Regions from separate parts of the Homo sapiens genome. Here region 1 is linked to region 2. The links are contacts of gene promoters, found by promoter capture Hi-C in blood cells and fetal thymus (Javierre and others, 2016). All regions are on one chromosome and are shown on one strand. The core of a region is centred on a gene start or on the middle of the fragment in contact, and the rest is flanking DNA. Distances in the headings are between cores, read along the strand shown.

Evidence for each region. The method cuts DNA at HindIII sites, captures the fragments that hold promoters and counts their contacts. A CHiCAGO score of 5 or more calls a contact.
Region 1: a fragment that was not itself captured here is called in contact with the fragment with the promoter of SIRPD in region 2 in 3 of 17 cell types (activated CD4 T cells, naive CD4 T cells and non-activated CD4 T cells); the score reaches 5.8 in activated CD4 T cells.

What each region holds. Positions count from the first base shown.
Region 1 is chr20:1,677,611-1,683,800 of GRCh38, reverse strand. It overlaps a transcript of SIRPG not described here. Among named protein-coding and RNA genes, the nearest start is that of SIRPG, 23 kb to the right of the region's middle. The HindIII fragment of the contact is 1,737 bases long and covers 3,350-5,086 here.
Region 2 is chr20:1,555,598-1,562,588 of GRCh38, reverse strand. It overlaps SIRPD (signal regulatory protein delta), which reads left to right and starts at 4,884. Exons shown (of 4, transcript NM_178460.3): 1 at 4,884-5,008. The coding sequence starts at 4,936. It overlaps LOC107985409 (a long non-coding RNA gene), which reads right to left and starts at 4,582. Exons shown (of 3, transcript XR_007067493.1): 1 at 4,465-4,582; 2 at 1,924-2,044; 3 at 1,052-1,137. It overlaps SIRPB1 (signal regulatory protein beta 1), which reads left to right. Exons shown (of 6, transcript NM_006065.5): 6 at 1-1,204. The HindIII fragment of the contact is 3,313 bases long and covers 2,907-6,219 here.

The DNA of each region.
Region 1 (6,190 bases), core at 2,969-5,468, 120 kb before region 2:
TGACGGGGTTTCACCATGTTGGCCAGGCTGGTCTCAAACTCCTGACCTCAGGTGATCCACCTGCCTCAGCCTCTCAAAGTGCTGTGATTATAGGCTCTACTCTCTACTTGTGTGAGTTCAACTTTTTTAGATTCAGTGTATGAGTGAGACCATGTGGTATTTGTCTTTCTGTGCCTGGCTTATTTCACTTAGCATAGTATCCTCCAGGTTGGAAATGACAGAATTTCCTTCTTTTGTAAGGCTGATTAGAATTTCATTGTGTATATATACCACATTTTCTTTCTCCATTCATCTGTTGATAGACACTTAGGTTGATTCCATTTTTGCTACTGTAAATAATGCTGCAATGGATATGGGTGCAGATATCGCTGTGACATGCTGATGTTACTTCCTTTGGATATACACCCAGAAGTGAGATTGCTGGATCTAATGATAGTTCTATTTTTAATTTTTGGAGGAAACTCCATACTGTTTTCAATAATGGCTGTACTAATTTACATTCTCACCAACAGTGGGTTGGATTCTCTTTTCTCCACATACTCTCCAATGCTACTTAAATTTCCTCATTTTGATAATAACCATTCTAACAGGTGTGAGATGATACCTCACTATGGATTTAATTTGCATTTCTCTGATGAATAGTAAGATTGGGTATTTTTTATATGCCTGCTGGCCATTTTAATGTCTTCTTTTGAGAAATGTCTATTCAGGTCTTTGGCCCATATATTAATTGAGTGAGTTGTTGCCTTATAATTGAGTTGCTTGAGTTCTTTATATGTTTTGTGTATTGACTCCTTATCAAATGTATAATTTGCAAATATATTTTCCCATTCTGTATGTTGTCTCTTCACTCTGTTGATTGTTTTCTTGGCTATGTATGTAATCCCACATTCATTTCTATATCCACGAGAAATGCACATGTAGAAGCTTTTTAGTTTGTTGTAATTCAATTTGTCTATTTTTGCTTCTGTTGTGTGTGCTTTTGGGCTGATATCTAGAAACTGATTGCCTAGACCAATGTTACAGAACTTTTCTTCTAGTACTTTACAGTTTCAGATCTTACATTTAAGTCTTTAATCCATTTTGAGTTGATTTTTGTATGTGGTATGAGATGAAGTTCCAATTTTATTTCTCTATACATGGATATCCAGTTTACTCAATAACATTTTTGAAGAGATTGACTTTTCCCTATTGTGTGTCCTTGAAACTTTTATCAAAGATCAATTAAGTGTAAATATGTGAGTTCATTTTTATGGAGTTGTCCCATATGGCATTTATTATGTTGAGGAACAATCATCCTATATGTAATTCATTGACAGTTTTTATCACTTAAAAATGTTGAATTTTTTCATATGCATTTTTGGGGCCTGTGTTGAGATGGTCATAGGGTTTTTGTCACTCATTCTGTTTATGTAGTGTGTCACATGGAGAGATTGCTGAATATCGACCCATCCTTACATTCCTGGGATAAATCTCACTTGACTATGCGAAACACACACAGGATTTTTAAAAGACTTTTCTTATTATTTCCTTCTAACCATTTCTTAGTCTATATGAAATGCACATTAAAGAGATATTTGGTTTTCCCTGTTGCCCACACTCTCTCTTCTTTTTTACTTCTCTGATCTTACCCCTCAAAGTCCCCCAATCTGTTAAGATAAGCAATAGATAAGCAAACCTCTTGGTAAAATGCATAGTCCCTCAAAATAGAACTTCCATGCATTACTCTATTAGTGTTCCCACTTTCATGAAGGGTAGGTGTGAGGAAGAAAGAAGTGGATAAAGTTGCAGAAACTTCGGCCTATAGCATCTATATCTATATAGTAACTATATCTATAGTTATATTAGTTATATCCATATCCATAGTCATACCTATATCCTCATCATCTAATGTCCATTGAAGCCTCCAAGCTTCAGGAAATCTACTGAGTAAAAACTTTATTTTATTTATTTATTCATTTTTTTGAGTCAAGGTCTCACTCTGTCACCCAGGCTGGAGTGCAGTGTTGCGATCTCAGCTCACTGCAACCTCTGCTTCCTGGGTTCAAGTGATTGCCATGTTTCTGCCTCCTGAATAGCTGGGACCACAGGGGTGTGCCACCACCCTCAGCTATTTTTTTATTTTTATTTTTAGTAGAGACAGGGTTTTGCCATGTTGGCCAGGCTGGTCTGAAACTCCTGACCTCAGGTATCTGCCCACCTCAGCCTTCCAAAGTACTGGGATTACAGGCTTGAGCCACTGTGCCTGGCCAACTTTATAATTTTTGAACACCCTCCATGTGGCAGACACTGTTGGAAACATCTTACAGCTCTTACTTTGGATGATCATTATATCCAAGGTAGAGATTCTTATCACCCCCTGCCCCCCACCACACACACACATAGATAAGGAAACAGAAGCACAAAGCATTCCAAGGTCATTCATTGGTAATTGGCAGAGCTATGATTTGAGCTCAGGCACTCTTAATCTAGAGATCACAGTTTTCACCATTACTCTTCCCAAATACTTCTGGCCCTGATTCTATTCCATGAGATTTCTGCAGCTGCTGCTAGTATGAGTGTGTGCAGGGGTGTGGTATGAGGAAGAGGATGTGTAGTTTTCTTCTCCTGGGCTCTTCTGCTTTCTGTATGATTGCAAATTGATTTTTTCTTCACCAACTCATCTACATGGGAAATTTATTTTCTCCAAATTCAACAGAAACAATCCATTTAAAATAAAAGATTTCAGTCTCTTAAGAAAGTATCCCACTGAGCAATTCACACATTATACACATATTTATTGGATATCTACTATGTTCCAGGACCTGACATAGAAATGTTGGGTGCACTGGTGAATAAAATAGAAAAAGTAGTTTCCCTTTTGTTCCTTATATCCACTGGAGAATGACAGTAACCAATACCCATGATAAGGAGGTAAATAAAATAGTAAATTAGACAGTGAATAGTAAATTAGATAGTGCCAAAAAAACAAGAAAGTATGAGTATATGACTTATAATTTTGAATGTTTTCATATATTCCTTTTATTGATTATTTTTGTCATAGAAAGATAGCCACATTTGTCAAAGGCTTTTCTGCATCAAATGGATAATCATGTGTTTTTCCCTTTATTCCATAAATATGGTACATTACATTGTTGTCATTTGTTTACTGAAACATCCTTGGATTTCAGGAATAACTATTATCTGCTCATGGTGTATTATCCTTCTACTATGCTATTCAATTCAGTTTGCTAGTATTTGGTTGAGTATTTTTGCATTAACAAACCTAGCAGTAATAATGCCAACTGTCAACAGAATGGTGTGCAGCTGGACCTGGCAGTGATTTTAATTTTGTGTTCTAGTGGAAGCTTAGTTTCCAATGCGCTTCATATCAGGTGAGCAAAGCCTGGATGTGGGACAATTTATGGTTAATGATTGCAACAGGAAAGTATGCCTTGTAGAACTGTACTCCAGACCAGGGGATCCCAGTAGGTAACCAGTCATTTGTTGTTTTAATGGAATATAGGATGAGGCCAAGAGGGGCATTGTTTCTGCATCAAAAGCCCTGGGGAAATTCATGGCCAACATGAGTGGTGAAGAGACTCCAACAGGCATGAAAGAAGTTGGCAAAATTTTTATAGAGAAGAGGTATTTTTGTTTGTTTGTCCGTTTGTTTGAAGGCACTAACAAGAGTATTGTTTTCGATGATGTGTAAAAGAATATGTTGCCACTAGCATTTAACAGAAACTTAAAGGTGTTGGATTATATGACATTAATACGTGTGTCAAATGAATCTGTTTTAAAGATGTTGTTATCAATGTAATGTCATCTCTGTGCTCCTGAAGAAAGGTGGATGCCATTATTGATATTGAGACATGATCCCCACTTTAGGATGGAGAGTCTTGGTAACACTCCCAAAAGGCAACACAAAGCTGAAGAAAGCAGAGTACAAGAAAGCCATCAGGGTAATAGCATCTCCCAAATGGTTGAGCCAATCAGAGTAGCAAATTAGCAAGCCATGAGCATTCAAAGGGAATCTCCTAGGAACTTTCCACCCTAGTTTAGAATGATCCCATTCTCATTGCCATTAGTGTTGAAAATGGTAGAGTAAGTCCTGCTGATTGGGTCTATAAAGAACACTCTAACATGACTGTGAAAATTTCATTTGGAGAGACATATGAAGATGAACAATTTATTCTACTCATAGTTCCCAGAGAGTGGGGTATGGCATGCCAGGTAGGAAGCCATATGGAAGGAGCTTCCGTGAAGCAGGCTCAACCAAGCAGATGGGGAAGCAAGACAGATTGGAACCCCAGGCAAGTGTCTTACTGGGAGTTAGGGTGGAGGACACAAAAACCATGATGGATTCACTGGTATGTTTTAATGCCACTACTCTACTAGGTCACAGCAGAGGAGGACAAAAAGGGGAATTGTGGCAGGGACCAGCTTTATCACACTGCTGTACCTGGTCATTTGGTAGGGTGCTCACAGCTTGTTTCAGGGATGTTGAGGCATCAGGAAAATATGAATTTTTTAAATGTACACCTAACTGGACATCTTTATTTCCTCATACAATTTTGAGTGCCATGTAGCATCCTTTCATTTCCACCCAAAGCACTCCTTTTAGCGTTTTTGTAGGTAAGGTTTAGTGGTCATAAACTCTCACCACACCAGTTGGGTGTGGTGGTGGGTGCTCATTTTCATGACCTGATGCCACCCCTTCTACAGATCAGGGAAGTTTGGGCCTGGAGACATCGTGCTATTCACGCAAGGATCCATGGCTGAGGATTTATCTGAGAATATCTTAATTTCTCCCTTGTGTTTGAAGGATGTTTGCCAGGTGTAGAGTTCTTGGTTGATAGGTTTTTCCTCTTTCAGCATTTTAAACATATCATTCCTCTGTCTTGTGGCCTCCAATGCTTCTGATAAGAACTCAGCTGATAATCTTACAAGGATCTCTCGCGTGAGAGGAATCGCTTCTCTTTTGCTGCTTTCAGAATTCTTTCCTTGACTTTAATTGTCGACAGTTGGATTATAATGTGTCTTAATGTGGGTCTCTTTGACTTTATCGCTGAGTTAAATTTGGGTTTCCTTGGCACCTTAAGCTTGTAGATTCATGTATTTTATCAAGTTTGGGAAGATTTTGTTCATGATTTCTTCCAATAATCTTCTGCCCCTTTCTCTTTTTCTCTTTTCCCCCAGAACTCTAGTAATGTGTATTTTTATCGATTTGATAATGTATCATCATTCCCTTAGATTCTATTATCTTTCATTTTTGTTGTATCTATACCTCACTGTCAATAATTTCAATGATTTCATCTTCCAGTTTCTTGATTTTTTTCCCACCTGCTCACTTGTTAGAGAACCTCTTTAATGAACTTTTAGTTGTAATACTTTCAACTCTAAAGTTCTCGTTTGATTTCTTTTTATAATTTCTCTTTGTTACAGTTCTTATTTTGTTACTGTATCATAATCCTGAATTATTTTAGTTGTTTGTCTATTGTTTCCTTTAGCTCTTTGAACGTGTTGAAGACAGTGGTTTTAACATCTTGGTCTAGCATCAGGGTGGGCCCACAGTGTATCACATGAGTCCTTATAAGAAGGAGGAGGCAGGAAATTAGGAGTTAGAGAAGCACATGTGAGGATGCAAGCCAGAGGCTGGAGTGATGGGAAGACGTAACTATGAGAAAAGAAATGTTACCAGCTTCCAGAATTAGTAAAGGCAAAGAACAGAGACTCCAGAAAACATAGCTGTTTTTTAAAAAAATTGTATATATGTAAGGTGTACCACATGATGCTTTCCTATACATATACATAGTGTAATGATTATTATAGTCAAGCAAATGAACATATCCATCATCTCACAGTTACTCTGCATGTGGGTGTGTGTCAAGAGCCCATGAAATATACTCTTTAAGCAAAAATACTAAATTCAATACAATATTGTTAACTCTAGTTGTCGATATATGGCATGTTCGATCTCTGGACTTCCTCATCTGACCTATCTTCAATTTTGTATTTTTTGACCTGTATCTCACCATTACCTCCCTGCACTTCACCCTGGTCAGTACCATTTTATTCTTCACCTTTACATACTTGACTTTTCTTCTTGATTGTAACGCAGTCACACAATTTTGGGCTTCTGAATTCCAGAACTACAATATGATACATTTCTTTTGTTGTAACACACCAAGTTTTGGTAATTAGTCGT
Region 2 (6,991 bases), core at 3,635-6,134:
AAATTTTGAGACTTGTGTTGTGGGACTGATGTTACTTAACTAAACTATGGTAAGAGAAATGCATGCATGTCATCACCAAAGTGAGAACTGCCTGTATTTATCTATGTTACGCAAATGGAATGTCAGTTATATCGTGGGGGGTTGGGGGTGGGGGAGGATTATCTGTATCCTCAGTTGCCAGAACTGTGTCTGCCATATAATAGGCTGTCAATTTTTTTAAATGAGTGAATACATCATTGAGGTCATTGGTTTCTACTAGGTGTTGGATTTCAAAAGAAAACTTCTCTTCATTTGATCACTTGGCTTGTGTGCTGTATTCTCAAGCTCTTTCTTTAAAGACTACTCTCTCTTCTTTCTGTTTAAAACATTCCATCAAAAATTCAACATCCTCTAGAAAGTAAGAAAGTGCTAACAAGAAAAAAAAGTCAACCCCAAAACCAAAACCCACAGTGACTGGAGTACATCAAAGAGGCGCAGGAACCAACTGAAAGAGCTCCCAAAGGCCAAAGCTGGAACACTTTCAGCAAAAAAATAAGTAAAGTAGTAATGAGTTATAGTCCAAAGTATAAAATAAATATCTGAGTCCATACTGATATAAATAAATGATTGAATAAATTAATGGGAAAGAAGAGAAGAATCTCCAGTGCAGAAGAGTCCCAGATAATTTATTTATACACTCCACTCTAAAGGAGGTGGAACATAACTTCCACTCCTGAAGTGTGGGCTGTGCACTGCGACTTCTTTGCAAAGAGTACAGCATGGAAAAAAGGAGAAAAAATAACTTTACAGTGGAAAAATCTGACAAATACAGCTTCAGCCAGGTGATCAAGAGTTCATCAACAGTTATAAATCAACATCAAGAATCATAAATCATGTCACTAATATGTACCTTTAATATGATGTGATGAAGATGACACTTTTCCTCTATTACCTTCCCCCCAAAACTCACAACCCCAATCTAATCATGAGGAAAACATCAGACAAATTTCAATAAGGAGGCATTCTGCAACATCGGGCCCAGAACTCCTCAAAACTGTCAAGGTCATCAAAATCAAGGAAAGTCTAAAAAACTGTCATAGCCAAGAGAAGCTTGAGGAGATATGACAAGTAAATGTAACAGGTATCCTGGATGGGATGCTGGAAGAGAAAAACGACATTAGGTAAAAAGAAAAGATCTAAATAAACTATGAACTTTGATTAATCATAATGTATCAATATTGGTTCATTGATTATAATAATGTATCATATCAATGTAAGATGCTAATGATAGGGCTCAATTTTTCTGTAAATCTAAAGCTGTCCTTAAAAAATTAAGTCTATTAGAAAAAATTAACGTCTTGTCCTCAGCTAGGTTTTATTTGCCTCTTGTACCCCGTGGGGAACAATGCAAGGAAATGTGCGGTAGGGAGACTTTGTTGATATTCCAAAGTTTTATCTCACTTCAAAAGCCTGAGGTTTCCTTTCCTCTCGTCCTTCCTCTGTCCACTACCAGAGCTCACCCCAGATCTAGGCACTCAGATCCCAGAGGAAGTGGCTTCTCAATCCCCCGTGATGCTCACCCTAAACTTTTCCCATTAGTAAAATCCAGGTCAGACCAAGTGGGATCAGAAAACTTTGGGTTATGTGGGTGAGCTGGGATAGCTTTGAGGACCTGACTATGAGTGAGTGAATAATGTCCTGAGCCCAAGTCTTCACAGGAACAAGTTGTTCCCATGAATTGTGTAATGGATGCTGAGAGGCACCTGGCTGTGGAGATGGTCCTCAGCATCAGCTCTATTTGCGATTGTCTCAGCTGAAGGGAGTGCCCTTGCTTAGGTCGTATCTGGTAACAAACCACATCTCATTGGACTCATCAACCTAGTCGTATAAAGGCCCAGCTCTCTTATCCTAACTCAGAGCAACTCTGGAGGAATATCCTAGTACCAGGCTCCATGCAAGGTCAGCTGAGGTCTTCAATGGGACTTCATTGCAGCCCAGCTTCTTCTTCTACCCAGTCCTGCTTCCATCTTCTCCCGTCCACAAGTGTTGATCCTAAAAGTACTCCCTGAAAGATAACCTGCTTGTTCATCTTCACCCCAGAGTCTGTCTCCCAGGGAACCCAACCTGGGACAGTGAAGCTATGCTACGTATCAGAAAGGTGGGGATCCCTTCATCTCTAAGGGAGCAAGTCAGTCACAGAAGAAAGCCTTGTTTATAGTACCTCCAGATTAATGAGAATCCACAAAAATGTTTATTCAAGAGAGGGACATAATTAAATCTATGTTGTAAAAAGACCAGTCTGGCTGAAGAAGGAGAAAGAGATTATAGGGGGCAAATAAAAATGGGGGTACCCTAGTGAGAAGGCAATTGTTCTTATTCAGGCAAGAGATGATGATAGAGATGGAGAAAGAGATTAATTCAGAAGGGATTTAGGAGGTAAATCCAATAGGGCCTGGTAGGGGCAAGATAGGAGTGTGAAACTATGCCCCCAAAGAGTTAAAGAAACCAGTCACTAAGAAATTCTTGAGTTTACAGGATAGCAGATAAGAAAAAAAAAAAATTGCTAAACTGCCGAAACTTCCTCCACTTGTAGGATAACAAAACTGACTAAAATCTGTTGGAACCAATATGGCCAACTGGAGTTTGCTCAGAATGAGCTTGCTGATGTCACAGCCTGAGTTTCTACCACGTATTTCATGATGACGCCCCAGGGTTTTGCACATGGGAGCCGTGAAGAGGCATAGAGAGATAACTGTACATGCCCAAGGACTTTCCAGACCTCCCCTTTCCTTTCACAAATCACATACTAATCCCAGAATCCAACCCCTAAACTTTTGCTAATAAAACTACTGCCTTGAAGCCAGCACATGGAGCTAGATTTGAGGTAGACTTCTGTCTTCCTGTTAGTCAACTTGCAATAAAAAGCTTTTCTTTTCTCAAAAGCCTGGTGTCACAGTATTGGCTTCTAGCACATCAGGCAGCAACCCCCTTTCACTTGGTAACAAGTGGATAAGTGAGGGTATAGAACATGAGTCCCTTCCTGGTTTGACAAACTGCTTAGATGATGGTACCATATACAAAACAGGCATGGTGTGGGAGAAGATAAGGTTTGTGAGTGCAGATCTGAAACTCAAACTTGAATATTTAAGGTATACAAAGAGGCCAGGCTCAGTGGCTCACACCTGAAATCCCAGCACTTTGGGAGGCTGAGGCAGGTGGATCATCTGAGGTCAGAAGTTCGAGACCAGCCTAACCAATATGGTGAAACCCTGTCTCTATTAAAAATACAAAAATTAGCCAGGCGTGGTGGTGGGCGCCTGTAGTCTCAGCTACTCGGGAGGCTGAGGCAGGAGAATCACTTGAACTCGGGAGGCAGAGGTTGCAGTGAGCCGAGGTCATACCATTGCACTCCAGCCTGGGCAACAAGAGCGAAACTCTGTCTCGAAAAAAAAAATACATATATATATATATATACAAATGAAGATGTCAAGAAGGTTGCAGAATATACAGGTCTGTATCATGGGCCCAAGATTACTCAGCTCTTAGGAGGTGCGTTCAGGATTCTAGCCTAGATTATATCTGATTCCAAAGCTGGCACTCTTGGATACTGACCCGTGAGTACTGACTCTCCAAGGAACTTAGAGTCTAATGAAAGGTGAGAAGATTCCTCAGAGTAGGGGAAGGGGAGGATGATGGAGGCTGGAGGAATGTTCCTGTCTAGTTCCAAGCAGGGGCCATGGATAGGAATTCCTTTGTGGAATTCATCATTTCAGAACAACGGGATAGGATGATGACATCACAAGGGGATGGGGACTCTTGTCGTCTCAGAGAGAACGTGCCAGCCTGGCTCTGCTTTCTTTTCCTAGAGGGTCTAACACCTCTCCCGGCCCTGACATCTAGCTGGTTCCTGAGGAGGAGGCAGAAGTCATGAGGAGGCAATGGGGAAACAGCCATGGCAGCCAGTGCCTGCCTGTGGATGCTTGGACATTAAAGGGTCACCAGCTGAGTGTGGGCTGAGTGTCCCTGAACACAACATTTGTGCTTAGGAAGAACCCATTCCAGAGCTGAGAGAGAAGGATGCCAACATGCTGCTTCCTCCCTCTTTCTGGGGGCATTTCTTCTGCCCCTCCAATCCCATCTCTGAGAGCTGGTCCCAGGTCCAGCCCAAGCAGGAGAGGCAGCCCTCACCTTCCCAGGTGTTTGTAGGCATGTTACTCTCCCTCCTAGAGAGTGTTCCCCGCAGCTCCGCCTTCCCTGCAGGCCTCCTCCATCCTCTAAAGCACAAATCATCACCACCTGCACAACTCGAATGTCTTTCTCAGCCATGCCTGATTCCTCTGCAGGAAGGAAAAAGGAAGCAGTTCCTGGTAGTGTATGGAGGGACCCACAGAAAAGCCAAGAGCCCACAGCAGATATTGCTTGTTTTTTACCTCTAACTACTCTGGAGTGCAAGAAAGGGCATCCATTGTAAAGTCCAACTCTTACCAAGTGGGTGAGGCTATAGACATCTTGTCTCTTTCTTCAGCTGTGCAGCTCAGACAGGCCCAGATGTTGAGCTCATGCAGGAGCTAGACCCATACCTGCGCATCATGTGGATGAGGCCTTTGTCTAGCCTATGTGTCTGAGGCTCCTAGATAGGCAAAGGCCATGAAGTTGGGGAGAACCTGTGAGATGGGATGAAACTCAGGAAGGAGTATAAGGCTGTGGGTGTCAAGCCCCCCAGCCCCAGCAAAGCTAAATACTTCCAGCAGCAACTTCCTAGCTTGAAGCAACCTTGTCTGTTCAATTTTATAATCACAAAGGAAAAAGTGTCCCAGTCCCCTGGCCTTTCCTCTCATCACAATCCCCTTCCTCTGACATCACAGAGGCAAGAACTGTCTTCTCTGCTCGGAGCACTGAGTCGAGGGCATCTCCAGGACAGGCATTCAGGCAGAGCAAGCTCCAGGTTTCACCACAATGCCCATCCCTGCCTCCCCACTCCACCCACCTCTGCCTTCCTTACTGCTGTATCTGCTGCTTGAACTGGCAGGTGAGTGGGGCCTCAGTGTATGTGTGTGGTGGGTTCTCCCCTCTGCCTGTTTAGTGAACTCTCCCTCACCTGTTCCCATAGAATTTCTTTTGGGAGGGTTTTCTCCATCTTATCCCAGAACAGGCAGAACTCAGAAGACTACACTGGGATGGTCCCCAATTCTGACAAAGTCTCCCGGTGGCCATGTCTGTTGCAAATCTCTTTGCTCAGGTAAACGACTCACACCTATGGTCACAGGGCGGGGCACAGCATCCATCACAGCTCTCACCCTCCAGCCTCTGGAGGGTGTAATTTATTTTATTTTATTTTTACCTTTACTTATTTTTTTGAGACAGGGTCTCACTCTGTCACCTAGGCTGGAGTGCAGTGGTGCGATCTTGGCTCACTACAACTTCCACCTCCTGGGCTCAAGTGATTCTCGTGCCTCCAACTCCCAAGTAGCTGGGACTACAAGCACGCGCCACCATGCCCAGCTAATTTTTGTCTTTTTTGTAGAGATGGGGTTTCACCATGTTGCCCAGGCTGGTCTCAAACTTATGAGCTCAAGAGTTCCACCTGCCTCGGCCTCCCAAAGTGCTCGCATTATAGGCGTGAGCCACCACACCTGGCCCCTGGCAGATTTTACACTTCTTTCTGTGAAATTCAGTTTTTTATTTCTCTGTTGCCACTGCATTTGGCTGCTCTTAAAAAGTACTGCAAACTGGGTGGTTTAAATTACAGAAATTAATTTTCTCACAGGTCTGGAGACTAGATATTCAAAATCGAAGTGTGGGCAGGGTTGGTTCTTTCTGAGGACTGTGAGGTTGAATCTGTTCCATGTCTGTCTCTGAGCTTCTAGCAGTGGTAGCCTCAAACATTTGTTGGATGGCAGGTGGCACCACCCTCCCTGTATCCTCACATCATCTTACTCCCATGTATGTCTGTCTCTGTGTCCAAATTTCCACTTCCTATAAAAACATCCACCATATTGGATTAGCACCCACCTCAATGACCTCATTTTAACTTGATTTCCTCTGTAACTCTATTTCCAAGTAAGGTCACATTCTGAGCTACTTGTGGTTAAGACTTCAACATATATTTCGGAGGCATACAATTCAACTCATAATAGCCTCAACATGAAATTTTAATAACTTAGATATATTCTTTGTTGGTTTATGTACTGCATTTATATCTGTCTGTGCTTTATACATAGGAAGGGTAACTATAAAGCTTCCTCTTTTTATTCAATGGAGAGTTAAGGATGACTAAAAATATTTAGGTAAAAGCTAACTTAAGATACTTAAAGCTAGTAAAACTCACTTGAATTTTTAACTGTACTTATTGGGTGAGGTACACAGACTGTAAGGTGACTCCCAACTATCCCACCCTTATGTAATCTCAGTTGTGTGTGACATGCTTCTATCTGATAGAATATGGCCAAAGTGATGCACTGTCTCCCCCTTGAGTATGTTAGGTTGTGTAAGATCTATCACACTAGAGTTTTTTTGCAACTTCTGGCCTTAAAGAAGCAAGGAGCCATGTTGCAAACTGCCTGTGAGAAGGCCCACATGGCAATGAACTGAGGGAAGCCCCTAGAAGTTGAGGGCCTCAGTCCTACAACCACAAAGACCTGAATTCTGCCAACAACCTGAGTGAACTTAGAATGAACACTTCCCCAGTCAAACCCCCAGATGAGAACACAGCCCAGCTGGCACCTTGAGTGGAGCTTGGTGAGACCTTGAAGCAGAGAACCCAGCTAAGCTATATCTGAATTACAAATGGACAAAAATTGTGAAATAATTAATATGTGTTGTATTCAGCCTCTAAGTTTGTCGTAATTTGTTATTCAGCGATAGAAAAGGAATATACCGAGTAAGATGGCAAAACCATTCAAAATAAAGTCCTCCATTGTTTTGTAGAACTTATTTGTTTTTAAAGGTGTACAACTTGATGGTTTTTTAAATTTTATCTTGGTTTTAATTGACAAATAATAATTGTATATAT